4 separate regions of the Homo sapiens genome follow, and regions 2, 3 and 4 are each linked to region 1. Evidence: promoter capture Hi-C in 16 types of primary human blood cells and fetal thymus (Javierre and others, 2016). All regions are on one chromosome and are shown on one strand. Each heading gives the region's core, a stretch centred on a gene start or on the middle of the fragment in contact. The rest is flanking DNA. Distances are from core to core; before and after follow the strand shown.

Region 1 (2,815 bases), core at 236-2,735:
ACCTCTGCCTCCCAGGTTCAAGCAGCTCTCTGCCTCTGTCTCCTGAGCAGCTGGGATTACAGGTGCCTGCCATCATGGCTGGCTAATTTTTGTATTTTTAGTAGAGATGGGGTTTCACCATCTTGGCCAGGCTGGTCTTGAACTCCTGACCTCATGATCTAACTCAGCCTCCCAAAGTGCTGGTATTACAGGTGTGAGCCACCGTGCCCAGCCGAGGCAACCATTATTTTGACTTTTATCACCTTTTGTGTATCTTTGAGTTTCATATATGTGGAATGATACAATTTGTACTCTTGTGTCTGGTTCCTTCCCTCATCAGTTTGTGAGACTAGTTCATGTTGTTGCTCATGGTCATAGTTTTTTTTTGTTTCTGTGTGATATTCCATTGTGAAAATATACTGAAATTTAGTTATCCTTTTTATGGCTGTTGGATATTTAGGTTGTTTTCAACTTTTGCGTATTATGAATATAGCCGCTATGAACATACTTGTGTTCTCAACTGGCCCTGGAATTCTTCTGTTTGCTAAAGTACCCCCAGGAAGTGTGTGCTAGAAGAAAAGGTTTGGGGAACTTGTGTTTTTGCATAACAATTCTTAATAAGAAAGTGCAAGAAATGTCGATCATTTCCCCGGGGGAGCAGGAGGGGAGAGGGAATGGTGATGGCTGTAGGTCTACTGGGCGCTGGAACCTCCACCAAATCTCCAGGGAATTTCTAGAGTCACGAAATGTTCTGTGTGAGGCAATGTACATATATGTACACAAATATGTTCACCACAAAATAAACTCATGACAATAACAGTCCTCATTTCTGTAACTGGGCACATGGTTGTACCTGATACTTAGAACTACCTTCTGCTACCCATTCTGAATTCCCTTTGTACTTGGCAAACCTTTCAGCTGGTTGAGGTTCTTTACCTGGTAGGATGACCCAAACCTTCATTCCTGAAGGGTCTGGGCCATTAGTAGTCCTGCGTGAATTGGATTATTGTAGTTTTCCATGAATTTAATCACAAATTTTAATCACAGGGTATGGTAATACTAAGAGATGCCCTAAGGGATCTCCTGTATTCCAGACATATTCTTTCTTGCCTCCATTGTGGAATAGTAGCACATTTTCCCCTTGGTAGTCAGGATCAGTCGCCCTAGACAACACCAAAACTTTGCCTGTCAATTCAGAGGTATGAGGAGCCCAAAGTGGCTGGCTGTGGCCTTAACTTTCAGTGCAATGGAATCACTGTTGTATCTGCTAGTGGAAGCATTCTTTTTTGGAACTAAGATCTCTAGGCTAACAGGATAATAAAGGAACAAGAGGCAAAAATTTTGCTAGTGAGTCATTAGGGGTAATAGCAAGTGGTGCCATCCCATTTTTACCCCTTGATCTCTGGACCCATGAGTCCTGACTAGCACCTGACTGGATGCTGATTCAAAGAATACACAGCTTTCTGTGGAATCTTGCCCCACTTCTGTAAAGTACTGTCACCTAGTTGGTGAGGTTGCCTGTAACTGACTTCAAAAGGCCATTCCACCATTCCGTCAAGCCAGCTGCTTTAGAACGGTTGGGAACACCGTGAGACCAGTGAATTCCACGAGCACGAACCCACTGCTGCGCTTCATTTGCTGTGAAGTGAGTCCCTTGATCAGAGCAATGCTGTGTGGACCATCGTGAAGGTGGACAAGGCATTTTGTAAGTCCATAGATAATAGATTCTACAGAAGCATTGTGTGCAGGGAAGGCAAGTTCATATCCAGAGCAAATGTGTATTCCAGTAAGGACAAAATGCTTCCCCTCCCTTCCACAATGGAAGCAGTCCAATGTAATCAACCTGCCTCCAGGTAGCTGGCTGGTCACCCCAGGGAATGGTGCCATATATTGGGGACTCAGCATTGGTCTCTGCTGTTGGCAGATTGGGTACTCAGTGGTCGCTGTAGCCAGGTTGACCTTGTTGCTTGAACTCCATGTTGTGAGCATGCGTGTGTGTGTGTGTGTGTGTGTGTGTGTGTGTGTGTGTGTGTTTGACAGAGACAGAGGGAGGAGAAAGAAGAGAGACTGGTAAAATTTTGGGGGATTATAGAGACAAAAAGCATGAGGAAGTTGCCTCAGGAACTCATAGAAAATGTGGGGCCTCTCACAAGATTGTTAGACTTTTAAAACATAAATTTTTATTTTACAGAAAAGTTGCAAAGATAATTGAGTTCTCTTAAATTTCTCACTCAGTTTTCCCTAATGGTAACATCTTATATTACCATGGTACATTTATGAAAATGAAGAAACTGAAAATGCAGCATTACTATTAACTAAGCTCCACGCTTTATTTGGATTTCACAAGTTTTTCCACGAATGTCTTTTTCTGTTCTAGGAGCCAGTCCAGAATCCCACATTGTAATTTTTGGAGATGGATTTTGAGGCAAATGTAATCATCCCTAAGGTTATATATCATATATCATATATGAAATATGTATTAGATATAGATGTATTCTATGTGTCTATTTAGCTACCTATCAGATCAATTTTATTCTTATTTTTGTAGAGACGGGGCCTCGCTATGTTGCTCAGGTTGGTCTCAAACTCCTGGGCTCAAGCGATCCTCCTGCCTCAGCCTTCCAAAGTGCTCGGATTACGTGCGTGAGCCACTGTGCCCACCCTCAGACTTTAAAATAGACGAAATCTTTTTTTGAGACAGTCTCACTCTATAGCCCAGGCTGGAGTGCAGTGGTACAATCTTGGCTCACTGCAGCCGCCACCTCCCAGGTTCAAGTGAGTCTCGTGCCTCAGGCTCCAGAATAGCTGGGATTACAGGTGCTTGCCATCACACCCG
Region 2 (2,815 bases), core at 117-2,616, 590 kb after region 1:
GCCTTTTCTTTTGTTCCTAAGCAGATGCTACAGATAAAAGGCCAGATATCTCCAGCTGCTGGTTGTCCACCTTATCTTATCAAGTGCCGATTTACTGAGCATGAGACAAATACATAACTGACTATTCCCCTACCTGTTCCTTGTCTCTTGCAACATGTGGATTCTGTGATGTGACTGGACCTTCCCTCTTTCCAGCCTGCTTTTCCCCTTTAGATATTGAAGCCCACAAAATCATCTTTGGAGAAAGGCACAGATCGCAGACTGTTTCTGTGGTTTCTATATTCCCTTCTTCTGGCGTGTGCCTTACATTGGCTTCTAAACTTTACAAACTTCTAAATTGACTGAGACTTGTGTCAGACATATTTTGGTTGACAAATTGGCATCCAACAGAAGGGACTCTGAGTGGAGGTGGTCCTGACTGTTGAGAAATCTGACTTTGGTGCTTGGTACCAGCCCGGGCTACTTTTATTGCTCAAACTGTTACAGGAAAGGGGTCTGGAGCCAGACCACAGAGTGAGTTCTTGGATCTCTGACAGGAAAGAATTCTGGGCCAGTCACAGAGCACAGTGAAAAAAGCAAGTTTATTAAAGACTACTCTATTACAGAGTAGGGCATCCTCAGAACTAACAACAAGAGGAGGCCAGGCACCGTAGCTCACACCTATAATCCCAGCACTTTGGAAGATGAGGTGTGACAACTGCTTGAGACCAGGTGTTCAAGACCAGCCTGGACAACATAATGAGACTCCATCTCTACTAAAAATAAAAAAAATTTGCCCTGCATGGTAGCATACCTGCAGTCCCAACTGCTAGAGAGACTAGGCAGTAGGATCTCATGAGTCTGGGATGTCAACGCTGCAGTGAGCCATTATTGTGCCACTGCACTCCTGCCTGGGTGACAGATAAGGCTTGTCTTGAAAGAAAAAAAAAAGGAAAAGAAAAAAAAAAGCAAGAGTAGGACTCTGAACACAAATAAAATGCTATATAATAAGGGAGCTGGCCAGGCATGGTGGCTCACACCTGTAATCCCAACACTTTGGGAGGCCAGGGAGGCTGGATCACTTGAGGTCAGGAGTTCAAGGCCAGCCTGGCCAACACGGTGAAACCCTGTCTCCATCAAAAATATAAAATATTAGCCAGGTGTGGTGGCGTGCACCCATAATCCCAGCTACTAAGGAGGCTGAGGCAGAAGAATCATTTGAACCTGGGAGGCAGAGGTTGCAGTGAACAGAGATCATGCCACTGCACTACAGCCTGGGTAACAAAGCGAGACTCTGTCTCAAAAAAAAAAAAAAAAAAAAAAAACAAGAAGAAGAAAGCAAGCTAAGAATAATAATGAACTTATGTGCTTTATTATAAAGGCTTGTGACCAGCTTGTGACAGGCTGATGTTATCCTCTTGTGTAACTATTGAGTTCAGCAGGAATTTAGGGATATACTATTACCTATTAGTATAAGAAACCTATTATCTATTAATATAAGAAGCCTATTCTTAGACTAAGAATACTTTTTGGTCTTGAGATATCAGGACTTCAAGACTTTCTGTTAAGTTCTGGGTCTTGTTTACTTATCATTAACTCATTCTCTCAACCATAAAGGTCCTGTGAAGGAGAGTGCCTAGCTTCCTGGGAATGGAATCCAGCAGGTTTCACTTCATTTGGCCTTATTCAAGACGGAGTCACTCTGGTTTGGACACCTCTGATATATTTTCCTCCTCCCTTTTATAAGGGGATCCTTAATTCTAAGGGGTACAGAGGGACAGAGGTCCATCTTCATAAATGTCTTCAAGGTGAACAGGAGCAATGATATTCCTCCCTAACCACTGGGATCCCTTGTATTTAGATTGGAGAGGAGTTCACTCAGCAAGTGTTGGCGTGGTGAGGACCAATCATTATTGTGACTTTCAACAAAAGGTGAAATCTGGAAAATTAGTAAGTGTTCAATTTAAAGAAGCTATTTAATAGGTTTACCTTGTTTTCTTTTCTTTTCTTTTTTTTTTTTTTTTTTTTTTTTTGACGGCATTTTGCTCTTGTTGCACAGGCTGGAGTGCAATGGCATGATCTCGGCTCACTGCAACCTCCGCCTCCCAGGTTCAAGCGAGTCTCCTGCCTCAGCCTCTTGAGTAGCTGGGATTACAGCTGTGTCCCACTATGCCCTGCTAATTTTGTATTTTTAGTAGAGATGGAGTTTCACTACGTTGGCCAGGCTGGTCTTAAAACTCCTGACCTCAGGTGATCCGCTTGCCTCGGCTTCCCAAAGTGCTGGGATTACTGGTGTGAGCCACTGTGCCTGGCTAGGTTTACCTTGTTTTCTTGCACAAAAATTACAACAGCAATACATTCCACAGCAACAAAACAGAATCTGTTCCAAGCATCTGAACAAAAAGGTTTTCCATGAACCAGACAATTGCTGGAACCACCCTGATATGGGGTCAACTGACAGTGTGTTAATGGCAGAGATATGGGTGTCTAAGTCCTTCATGGCCTGAGTAATATTATGTTAATATTATGGAATATACAAACAACATTCCATTTTGATGATAGCACAAGATCTCCCTTGAGCCGCTGTTAAAATGTCCAAAGCCATGCAGTTTCGTAAGGCTACCTGTCTAATTTGAGAAGTCTCTTCAGTTAGTAGGATAATGGCATGCTGTGTAGTATTGAAAGCTGTAGCTGTATGTTGGAATACAGATTCAACTTGCCACTTGACATCCATTACAGCCACCTCTGACAGTAATATAGCCCTCGAGAAAAACCACCAAGTAGGGTCAGGCGCGGTGGCTCACGTCCATAATCCTAGCACTTTGGGAGGCCAAGG
Region 3 (2,815 bases), core at 210-2,709, 550 kb after region 1:
ACTGACTCAGTGCAAGGAGACAACTCCAACTCCCTATGATTTCATCTCTGACCAATCAGCACTCCTGGCTCACTGGACTTCCCCCACCCACCAAATCATGCTTAAAAACTCTGCTCTGTAGGGCAGGTGCAGTGGCTCACGCCTGTAATCCCAGGACTTTGGGAGGCCGAGGCGGGCGGATCACGAGGTCAAGTGATCAAGACCATCCTGGCCAACGTGGTGAAACTTCACCTCTACTAAAAATACAAAAATTAGCTGGGCGTGTTGGCAGGCATGTACTCCCAGCTACTTGGGAGGCTGAGGCAGGAGAATCACTTGAACCCAGGAGGCAGAGGTTGCAGTGAGCCAAGATCGCACCACTGCACTCCAGCCTGGGGAAAGAGCAATACTTTGTCTCAAAAAAATAAAAATAAAATAAAACCTCTGCTCCCCAAATAAATGCTTGAGAGACTGACTTGAGTAATAATAAAACTGGTCTCCCGCATAGCCAGCTCTGTGTGAATTACTCTTTCTCTATTGCAATTCCCCTGTCTTGATGAATTGGCTCTGTCTAGGCAGGAGGCAAGGTGAACCCCTTGGGTGGTTACAACTCTATGTGCTATACTTTTCTATGACTGGCAGTGCAGTAGCTTTGTTTATACCAGCATCACTACAAACACATGAGTAATGCTTCGTGCTGTGAGGTTACAATGTCTGCAACATCACCAGGCAATAAGAATTTTTCAGCTTATAGGTTAGATGATAAAGATTATAATCTTTCAGGACCACCAGCACATATATATGTGGTCCATTGTTGACTGGAATGTCATTGTGTGGCACATGACTGTACTTAAATTAGATAATGTATATGAAGAGTTTTTCATAATGCCTGGAGTACATCATATAAATTCAATAAGTGAAAGCTTTATTTTGAGTGGTTACATCTCTATTACAAAGTTGCCAAGAACATTAGCTTTGGAATTAAAGAGAGCTGCAGAGTTCTTATTATGAAAAAAATGAGGGTTATTTGTTGAAAGGCTCATAACACTTTGAGCTGAAGGTAGAGAACAGATGTAGGCTCTCAAAAAGAATGTGGCTAATTGAAGTTGTGCTTGCTTGAATCTTCCTCATCTCTTCAGACACCTCAGGACTCCTCAATCCTGAAGCTATTTCCATCAGAGTCTCTGCTTTACCATTTGGAAAGCCTTTTTTTTTTTTTTTTTTTTTTTTTTTTTTGAGACAGAGTCTGGCTCTGTTGCCCAGGCTGGAGTGCAGTGGCACAATCTTGGCTCACTGAACCTCCACCTCCTGGGTTCAAGTAATTCTTGTGTCTCAGCCTCCCGAGTAGCTGGGGTTACAAGTACACACCACCATGCCTGGCTAATTTTTTGTATTTTAGTAGAGATGGGGTTTCACCATGTTGCCCAGGCTGGTCTCGAACTCCTGAGCTCAGACAATCCACCCTCCTTGGCCTCCCAAAGCGCTAGGATTACAGGCGTGAGCCACCACACCCAGCCCGGAAAGACTTTCAAAGGCTACCATTAATCAGTAAGTGGTTCAAGAGAGGGAGAGCTCTACTTTTTCCCTCTACTACTTCTCAATTGCTCTATCACTTCTCAGTTAAATGATTAGATAATTAGATTTGCTGATCAATTTCAGAGAAATAGCTAACAGTTAGAATTCCATGCATGGCATATACTGTGCTAGGTATTTTGTATTCTTCATCTCACTTATTCTGTTAGCCTTGAAAAGTGGCTTTTGGTGTCTCCAATTTATAGATAATATTTAACAGTAATAACAGTGATTATAACTCACCATTATTGAGTGCTTACCATGATTCAGTTACAGTTTTAAACCCTCAATACAGATAATGTCTCTTTATCTTCATTAATAACTCTATCAGGGAGGAACTATTTTTAATCCCCATTTTTTAGATAAAAACTAAAGGTGCAGACATATTCAGTAATTTGCCCAAGGTCACACAACTAATAAATGATGGACAGGATTCAAACCTCTGGTCTCTATGGCTCCAGAGTTCAAAGCTTTTTCTCCTCAAAAGCCCAACAAATTCAAGCATTGACATATTTTTACAGCTGAGAGACAATGAGTCATTGCAACCTTTCTGCATGAGTTTCAAGTTTTCTCAAAATCAAAAATCTGTTTATCCTCTTCATAGCTCCAGTAGCAACTTCCCTCAATAAATTATCTGTTGCCTGACTAGCTCCATGTCTAATGACTTTATTATGCTCCAGTTTGAATTTCCTATTCTCACTACCCTTCTTAATCATCCAAAATAATTTGTTCATGCAATGTTGTCCCTGAAGCATTAGAAAATATATCATTTGAGGAAAAGTTCTGTAACATAAATGCACTAAATACGAGGTCCATTAAGACCAATGACAGCGTGGTGGCTCATGTCTGTATTGCCAGTACTTTGGGAGGCTGAGGCGGGTGGATCACCTGAGGTCAGGAGTTCAAGAGCAGCCTGGCCAACATGTTGAAACCCCGTCTCTACTGAAAATACAAAAATTAGCTGGGTGTGCTGGCACATGCCTGTAATCCCAGCCACTTGGGAGGCTGAGGCAGGAGAATCGCTTGAACCCAGGAGGTGGAGTTTGCAGTGAGCTGAGGTCGCGCCACTGCACTCCAGCCTGGGCAACAGAGGGAGTCTCTGTCTCAAAAAAAAAAAAAAATTAGCCAGGTATGGTGGTGTACGCCTGTAATCCCATCTACTCGAGAGGCTGAGGCAGGAGAATTGCTTGAATCCAGGAGACGGAGGTTGCAGTAAGATGAGATCGTGCCACCGCATTCCAGCCTGGATGACAGAGTGAGACTC
Region 4 (2,815 bases), core at 91-2,590, 520 kb after region 1:
TCTTTGAAACCCCCTTCATTCCCTAGTGTGCACTGGAATCCTCTGCAGAGCTATTTCAGTCTCAGGCTCATGGGAGTACCACCCCATCCCCCCCACAATTTCCTACCCCCAAGATATTCTGATTCACTGGGGTGGATCACAGGCCCCAGACCTGGGAAGTGAGGTTTGAAAAAAGTTCTTCAGTAAGAACCCATTCCCAACCACCTCCAGAATAGTAGTTTAGTGTGTAGCCTCCAGAGACAGACTGTGGAAAGTTCGATCCCTGGATCAACCGTCTCCTAACTATGTGTTAGTATTAGATTGTTATAGTAGTGATCCCCAATGAACTACACCTTCTATTATCCGCTCCGTTGTGTGGTCCACCTCTACATTGACTGTGGGCTTGGCTATTTGACTTGTTTTGGTCAATAAATAGGAGGACATCATAAACGTGATATGATACATGTTTGCTCATTGGGGTTTGCTGTAATGCTTTTGCTATATTACTATAGAATATTTAATTCTATTATAAAACAAGAGAAACTAAAATGTAGAAGCAAGTCACTTATGAGAAAGGTTACACATAGAATGAATGGATATGGGTTGAACATAGATAAAAAGGATGGAACAAATGAAAATGCTGCTTTAGATAGAGGCAGAAAGACAAAGTGGACTTTTAAGTATTAATAAGGTACAGATCATACTATCTTCAGATTTACAGCCATGTCATCCCTAAATTGCATACCTACTGGTAACACCCATTGTAACGCTATTATGGCCTCATGTAATCTCTTCCCAAGAAAAGCAGATAAACCCCCAGCTACAAAGCCAACTAATGCCAGCTACCATTATAACCAGACACACTTGCCCCTCAGCTCTGTAACAGAACAGACATATGTTGAGCCCAGGCCCCTTCAGTCTGTTGAGTCACCTTACTTACTCTCCAGTCTGGTCCTTGTAGCCACACTATGTGCTGAGAAGACTGGATGGTGGAGAGGGATAAGACATGAGAACATTGCATAAAACAGAATTTAGGTGCTATGGTCCTTCAGCCTATCCTAAGCTTATTAATCTACCCTATCTCTTTCCCCTTGCTTCTCACTCTGTTTTATGTTGGTTGGTAAACTCTTCTGGTTATTATTGCTGCTCTTTGGGTAGACACATTATGCCAAAACTTAGTAGTTTAATTAGCCAATTTATTTTGCTCTTAATTTTGAGGCTCAGAAATTGGGGAAGAACTTACTTGGACAGTTATTTTATTGGAGTCGTTTATGTAGTATCAATCAGATTTCAACACAACTGCTGTCATTTGAAAGTTCAGCTGGGCTGAATAGCTAAGATGGCTCACTGACATGGCTGACTGGTAGCTCAAATGGGGCTGAGAACCAGAGCACTTTCACACAGCCACTCCAGCATGGTGATCTTCTCACCAGACAGCTGGCTTTCCCCAGAGTGAATGTCTAAAAAGAAGCAGGCTTGTGGCGTTTTCTGACCTATCCTTGGAAGTCACACAGTATCACTTCCACTGTATTCTACTGGCTATAAGCCAACCCCTAGGGCCAGCCCCTATTCAAGGGAAAGGGATATAAACCCCACATCTTAATAGGAGTAATGCCAAAACCTTTGAGGATACGTTTTAGAACCACCAGATAATGTGATTTAAGCTTCTTAATTTGGCCTATAAGCCTATCTATTTCGTGACCTGTAGGTGTATACATGGAGGCTGCCATTGCATCAAGGTAATTTTCCACATGGAAAAATTGCCTCGAAGACATTTACCTTTTGGAATCCAGCTGCTGCATAAAGAAGTCTGATGTATCCTGCTGGAAAGACCAAATGGAGGAGGAGGCCGTAGCCAACAGCCCCAGCTAACTGCCAAACATGCATGACAGCATCTTGGACCATCCAGGCTCAATTGAGCCCCAGATGACAGCATTGGGGTTGAGAGCACTAGCTCTAGACTCAGACTGCCTGGATTTGAGTCCTTATACTGTCATTTCTTAGCTGTGTAACCTTGAGCTGATCAACCTTTCCGTGGTTGCCCATCTGTTTAATGGGAATAAGAACATGTTCAGTTTGCTCACCTGTTAAATATAGATAAGGGCATCTGCTTTGTAATGTTATAGTGAAACCAAATAATACATGTAAAGCATTTCAAACAGCACCTGATACATGACAAGCATGCAATAAATACTAGCTATTATTATCTAAATGCCCACGGACCTCTCAAATCTCTACGATTATGTCTTTGGACCCTCATTTGAGAAATGCCCACCTAGCTATCTGTCATTTAATACATGGATGTGTATTAACTGCATCCCCTAACCACTTCCTTCTCTGAACACCTGAATATCCTAAATATGAATGGATGAAGGATCTAGGGAGGGAGATAATTTGGGGATCGTTTATGGGGCTGTGGAGCAGGTCTAGATGCAGGTGGCAAAGGGGAGTTTCCGAAGAAATATGATGGTGCTGAAGAGGAAATGCTAGCAGGCTGGAGGGGCTACAGAAATGGAAGATAGAAGGAAGGAAAGCCCAGAAGGCAAACTTGGCCTGAGTTCAGCCCAGCCTGTTCTTCGCTTTTAAAGAGGACAACTGTCATACCTCGGTTAACAATCACAGTTTCCTCCTCATGAAAAATTGCTGCTGAATCATCAGTCCATGGTAAGCTGCATCATATAAATACGCTCCAGAGTTCCTGGCTTCCCTGTTGCTGGCAGGGCACACAGCTGTTTGCTGCCTGCCATTGATGAAACTTTATACACCCAGCTATTCTGCTTTAAAATTCTTGAAATTGTTGCTTTACCTAGTGGACCCTTTAATCATTTCTTCTGCC

Evidence for each region. The method cuts DNA at HindIII sites, captures the fragments that hold promoters and counts their contacts. A CHiCAGO score of 5 or more calls a contact.
Region 2: a fragment that was not itself captured here is called in contact with the fragment with the promoter of FER1L6 in region 1 in 1 of 17 cell types (M1 macrophages); the score reaches 5.8 in M1 macrophages.
Region 3: a contact is called between a fragment that was not itself captured here and the fragment with the promoter of FER1L6 in region 1, in 10 of 17 cell types (fetal thymus, M0 macrophages, total CD4 T cells and 7 more). The highest score is 8.8, in fetal thymus.
Region 4: a fragment that was not itself captured here is called in contact with the fragment with the promoter of FER1L6 in region 1 in 1 of 17 cell types (M2 macrophages); the score reaches 9.1 in M2 macrophages.

What each region holds. Positions count from the first base shown.
Region 1 is chr8:123,850,502-123,853,316 of GRCh38, forward strand. It overlaps FER1L6 (fer-1 like family member 6), which reads left to right and starts at 1,486. Exons shown (of 41, transcript NM_001039112.2): 1 at 1,486-1,684. RefSeq lists a silencer at 1,050-1,198. The HindIII fragment of the contact is 9,737 bases long and covers 1-2,815 here.
Region 2 is chr8:124,440,756-124,443,570 of GRCh38, forward strand. No RefSeq gene overlaps it. Among named protein-coding and RNA genes, the nearest start is that of TYW2, 8.7 kb to the right of the region's middle. RefSeq lists an enhancer at 1-74. The HindIII fragment of the contact is 6,278 bases long and covers 1-2,815 here.
Region 3 is chr8:124,401,362-124,404,176 of GRCh38, forward strand. No RefSeq gene overlaps it. Among named protein-coding and RNA genes, the nearest start is that of TMEM65, 30 kb to the left of the region's middle. The HindIII fragment of the contact is 1,119 bases long and covers 901-2,019 here.
Region 4 is chr8:124,374,009-124,376,823 of GRCh38, forward strand. No RefSeq gene overlaps it. Among named protein-coding and RNA genes, the nearest start is that of TMEM65, 2.7 kb to the left of the region's middle. The HindIII fragment of the contact is 601 bases long and covers 1,041-1,641 here.